2 separate regions of the Homo sapiens genome follow, and region 2 is linked to region 1. The links are contacts of gene promoters, found by promoter capture Hi-C in blood cells and fetal thymus (Javierre and others, 2016). All regions are on one chromosome and are shown on one strand. Each heading gives the region's core, a stretch centred on a gene start or on the middle of the fragment in contact. The rest is flanking DNA. Distances are from core to core; before and after follow the strand shown.

Region 1 (2,807 bases), core at 9-2,508:
TCCCTCATCCTCTCTCTTTCCCTCGCATTCTGTCTTCCCCTCCACGTCTGGCTTTTCTTCCTCGTCTGACTTTCCTTCATCATCAGGCTCTACTTCATCTTCTGGCTTTCCCTCGTTTTCCAGGTTTCCTTCATTTTTATTGTAGGGTTTTTCCATGTCGAGATTTCCCCTCCTTTTCCTGTCCTGGGGGATGGGAATGGAGGGAAGAGGAGACAAATAAGAGACATGGGAGACTGAGGGCATGGGGTGGAATGCAGGTCTGGATAGTACTTGCATCTCACCCCTGGTGAGGGTTCCCCTAAGCTGGCAGGGCCCCCAAGAGGGCCTTCTGCCCACCACGTAGCCTGCCACTCCTCCCACACACGTGAGCCAGCCATTCCCTGGCAGTCCCTGCCACCTTCTCTGCACTGGTTCAGCCTGGTAAGGTGTGTGTTCATGTGAGTGGGGGATGGGCAGGGGCCCCAGTTCGGCCCTGGCCGGGCCCTCCACACTCTCAACCCTTATAGGGCCCTGTCCATTGAGCTCCCCCACAACCACCTTCACAGACCTGCAGGGATTCTGGACAGGTTGCTCCTCCTTTTTAGGCCTCGCAGAGCGCTGGGAACAGACGCGCAGACCTGCGGACAGACAGGAGACAGGGGTAGGGGCTGCGCAGTCAGCGGTCTCACAGGGACTCGGTTCCCTTTCCTGAGTCCAGGCCCTGCTTACCCAACGTTTTCCTCCCCTACATCCCCCGCACCCCAGCCGCCATTTCTTTCCAGGCCTCGGGCACCAAACCAGGATGCTTTCCAAACTGCGTTTGTCTCTGTGTCCCCTTCCCCTGGAGGCAACCTGTCCCAGCGCCACCCCGTTTTTGCGGAGGTCAGATGTTTCCATGGGAGCAGATTGTGAGAGGCGGTTATTTCCAGAATATGTCTACGTTTCACTGTTGCACTGCGGGGTTGCCCCCCCGTACTCCATTTCCAGTACTAAAATGGATGGACGGCTCAGTGCAGGGGGTCGTCGAGAAGGCGGGCCAGGCTCCCCCGCCCTTGCCTCCGACCGCTCCGCTTCCCCCTCCTCACCAGTCTCCCGGATCCTTTCTCCGCCCCTCCCTACTCCTACTGCCAGCCACCTCCACCCCTTCCGTGGTTCCGCCGGCAGCGCCCACCTTCACACTGACCTGCCGGGACCCGGGACAGGCCTGTGCCTTCTCCGGCTCGCGGAAGCCCGCTCGCTGCTCCCCCGCTGCCCGGGCAGCTCAGACAGCTGGTTCTGCGCGGGCGCCAGGACCGGACCGCAGGGCGGGCGGGCGGGCGCGGGGGCTGGTGCCCACGTAGGCGCCCGGCGGGTCACGTGAGCGCCGCGTCACCCGAGCTCGGCCCCCCTTGCCTGACCCACCTCACCATCCAACCCCGAAGGACCGGGAGGCTGGGGACGGTCGGGGTCGGGGTGTGTTTGTGTAGCAAAGGGGGGTCACGGAGAAGAGGAGGAGGGGGTGGCTTTCTGACCCCAGGTGCTTTACCTGGCGCATCTCACGGCATCCTCGCAGGGTATCTCTCTCTGATGCCATTATCGCCAGGTGTGACAGCTGATCAAAGAGGGTACCCGACTTTGCCAAGAGCGCTCAGCCCCAGAACTCCAGAGCCCGCTTTCAAGACTGTCTCTGCCTGACTCCAGAGCCCAGGGTGGTGCTGCCTGCCAGGAAGCTGAGCTGCCACCTTGAGTGGCAGTGTTCCTAGGGTTCTGTCCTGGGCCTCCTCTCTCCTCAGTCCTCAAGTTCTGTCTCCCTGTTTGATCTCATTCATTTCCAGTAAAGACCAATGACTTCCAGATTTACATCTCCAGGCTATTCCCTCCCCAGAATCTCAGACCTATTTTTGCATTCCCATCAGAAATATAGGGGAGTGTTTTGTTTCCCAATGCCCTTCCCAACATAACCTATGACATACTTTTAAATGTTCACTGATATGATAGTTGAGAAGTAATATCTCAATGGCATTTTATTTTGCCTTATCTGTGTTTAAGGACAATTTAAATATCTTTCTTTGTGAATTGTCGGTTCATGTCTTTTCCACATTTTTCTAGTGGGTTGTTGGTCCTTCTCACCTCAATTTTCAAGTTTTCTTAATACATTAACTGTTATATATGTTGCAATTTTCTCTCCAGTTTGTCAGTTGCTTTTTGGCTTTGTTTATGGTGTTTTTCTGCCATGCATTAAAAAAAGTAGTCAAATTTATTTAACTTTTATTGCCTCTAGATTTCGATTCATAGTTAAGAAATCTTTTCCTACATAAGGTCCAAGAAGCATTCACCCATGTTTTCTTCTAGTATTCATATGGTTTTCTTTACATTTAGAGTTTATATTTGTGTATGGCATAAAGTATTGATGGATCTTTTGTTTTCTTTTTCCAATCGGTTTCTCAGTTGTTCTGGCATCAGAAAGTCCATCTTTGCTTTAGGGATTTGAGATACCACCTTTATTACATATCAAATATCCATATGTACTTGGAAAACCTTCTGGGCTTTTTATTCTATTTCATTGGTCTGTTTGCTATCCATATACCAGTTGAATTATAGAGGATATATAATTTCATATATCTGGTAGAGCTAGGTCCCCTCAGTAGATTCTCTTTTTTCCAACACATTCTTGTATGTTTGTTTTTCTACATGAACTTCAGCATAAATTTGATTCAGATCCGTTTTAATTAACGATTAGATATATCCACCTGAATGTCCCTGAAGGACCTCAAATGCAATATGTCCCAAGTGATTTTACCATCCTTCCTTGATCTTTTCCACACACAAAACTCCCTCCTCTTCATTTC
Region 2 (2,738 bases), core at 12-2,511, 210 kb before region 1:
CAGTGCAGTGTTTTTCTTACACTTGATTTTAGGGCAGATAAACTGTAATATACTGTCTTAGCCCATTTGGGCTGCCCTAACAAAATACCATAAGCTTGGTAGGCTATAAACTACAGAATTTCATTTCTCAGCTCTGGAGGCTAGGAAGTCCAAAATCAAGGCATCCGCACATTCAGGGTCTGGTGAGGTCTTGATTTCTGGTTCACAGATGGCACCTTCCAGCTCTGTGGAAGGGGGAAGGGGTTTCTCCTGGGCCTCTTTTATAAGGACACTAATCCCATTTATGAGGGCTTCACCCTTGTGACCTAATCACCTTCCAAAGGCCCCATCTCCTTATAATGCCATAACCTTGGGGGGTTAGGATTTCAACCTATGAATTTTGGAGGGGGACAAAAAGATTCAGAGCATAGCATACACCTTTTGATAAAACGTTAATGTGCATGATTTGGGATATTCACTAATGTTTTCTTTTTCCAAACTGGTCATTTTAATTTCCTCAAGTTTCCATCACCAAAAGAGCTCTCATTCTTTACTACTTTCTCTTTAAGAGAAGGAAGGGATAATGACAAAAGCTAGGCATGTTTATGGAATAAAGGAAAAATTATTAAATGCCTTCTTACTGATATGCTTGCCAAAACTGGTGAGCAAGGATCTCTTATTCTGCTAGTGATGGTAGTGGTAATAATGTGTGAAAGGGTTTTTTTTTAAGGGGGCAAGAAGTTACTTAATATTTTCCCAGTGAAAATAAGCATCTTCACAGCTCAAGATGTGGCGTCGTCACCTGTAGTCATATAGAAACTGCTGCAGTGATCTTTGTGTCTTCATAAATCTCTTTGCCTTCTCCAAGGAAACACAGAGAATGATGATTCAGTTATATATAAATGTCTTTTTAAACAGTGGGTTTTGTGTGTGCAAGCATGTGTATTTTTAAGTAATCTGTCAGTTCCTTTCGTGCTGTATGAACTATGGGTAAATGTATAATGGTCTCACTATAACACTCCTGAATTTTAATCAGACCTGCCAAGCTGTGCCACATCTAGTTAACTGATTGATAAAAAGAATTGGGAAATGCTGCCTTAATGAAAGAAATAGCTCTTAATTCAACATTAGCTATATTGATTAGAGTAAAAATACAAATCACACTTTCCTGTGGTGCATTCATGAGGAAGCAAGAAACAGGCTCATATCATCTCTTTTCTCTTACGTTGTTCCTGGCTGCCTTAGAAACGACATATCCAAGGGTGTGTCCTGTAATATATTGCTCAACATAGAGTCTGTTAATAGATGAACAAGTGCCAGTAGCCTCTGAGTTCTCTCTTTTTCCATTTGTTCCCTGCTAGAAAACTTAGAGTGACCGATAAATGCTTTAAAATGTTCTTTTTTTCTGATTACAAAAGCCATACACATCCACCGTAGAAAAATGAAGTAATGAAAGAAATAGAAAAGCAAGATTTAAAAAATTAAAGTCATCTGTAATGTAATCCTATTAACCTGAGATAAGCAGATTTTAACATTTTAGTGTAGATTTTAATATATTTATGTATTTTTAAAATTGATTTGATACTGCACACACTGTAATCTTTTTTACTTAATATATATCTATAGTACTTAACTTTTCTCTAAGACATATATTCTTCTAAGATTATATTTGCTGTTTGCATAATATTGTATTGAAGGGTTTACCACAATTACCCATATTGCTAAACTTTTAATAAAACACTTATTGCTAGACATTTAGGTTGTTTTACAGCTGCCTTCTTTTCATAAAATAAAGCATCAGTGAAGTTCCTTAATATCAATCTTAACTCTCACCTCTGTTTATTTCCTACTAGTAAAATTTCTAGGTCAAAGATTATGAATTTTTTATTAATTTTAATATATACTGGCAAATTGGCCTCTAGAAACTTATCCCAAATGACATCAACACCAGTAGAATAAGAGGAAGACTATCTTTCCAACACCCAAACGTATGGACTATTATCTTCCTTTTTAACCCCATATGTGCAGTCTGATGGGTGAAAAAATGATCTCATGCTGTCATTTACATTTATTTAATTTTTTGAGAGTAATTGTTTATACATTCATTGGCCATTTTTATTTTTCCTTGAGTGAATGGACCCTTATGGGGGTTGGGGAACATTCATTTTTGTTTCTTATTGATTCCAAGGAAATCTTTTTTTATATTGTGGGTATTAACCTTTGATCTTATCCACATTGCTAGTTTTCTGCAATCCCCTCCCATAGATCTTGCCTTTTAATTTTGTTTATGGTATTTTAAAAATATACTGCCATATTATAGAAAAGGTTATGTTCTGATAAATTAGAAAACTGGTGGGTTGGGGAAAGAGAGGTGCTTATTTGATTTGTCCTTTGTTTCTGATTATACTCGAGACTACTTTTGTTTAGAAAGGTTATGAATCTAAGCTTTGGTCACCATGATAAAAGAATTGCTAGAAATAAAAAATATTCATTCATCCAGATGCTTTAATTGCATGATGTCAAATGACTGGTTTGAATTGAGTCTACTGCTGTAATAATCAGATTATTCTGAAGCCTTGTGTTAAATATAAATGCAGAGATAGAAACAGTTCCACTTTCAACCACAAGGGGGCAATAAAGACCGGTTAGTGTTCCGCCATAGACTAAACTTATATATATGTGTGCATATATATAGTATATATAGAGAGAGTATATATATATATTATATGTATACTTTAATTTCTGGGTTACATGTGCAG

The links. The method cuts DNA at HindIII sites, captures the fragments that hold promoters and counts their contacts. A CHiCAGO score of 5 or more calls a contact.
Region 2: a contact is called between a fragment that was not itself captured here and the fragment with the promoter of TCEAL3 in region 1, in 1 of 17 cell types (activated CD4 T cells). The highest score is 5.3, in activated CD4 T cells.

Annotation. Positions count from the first base shown.
Region 1 is chrX:103,606,414-103,609,220 of GRCh38, reverse strand. TCEAL3 (transcription elongation factor A like 3) reads right to left here and starts at 1,258. Exons shown (of 3, transcript NM_032926.3): 1 at 1,163-1,258; 2 at 548-617; 3 at 1-183. The coding sequence starts at 156. RefSeq lists silencers at 934-1,103, 1,134-1,363. The HindIII fragment of the contact is 12,227 bases long and covers 1-2,807 here.
Region 2 is chrX:103,817,547-103,820,284 of GRCh38, reverse strand. It overlaps a transcript of RAB9B not described here. Among named protein-coding and RNA genes, the nearest start is that of RAB9B, 13 kb to the left of the region's middle. The HindIII fragment of the contact is 2,330 bases long and covers 97-2,426 here.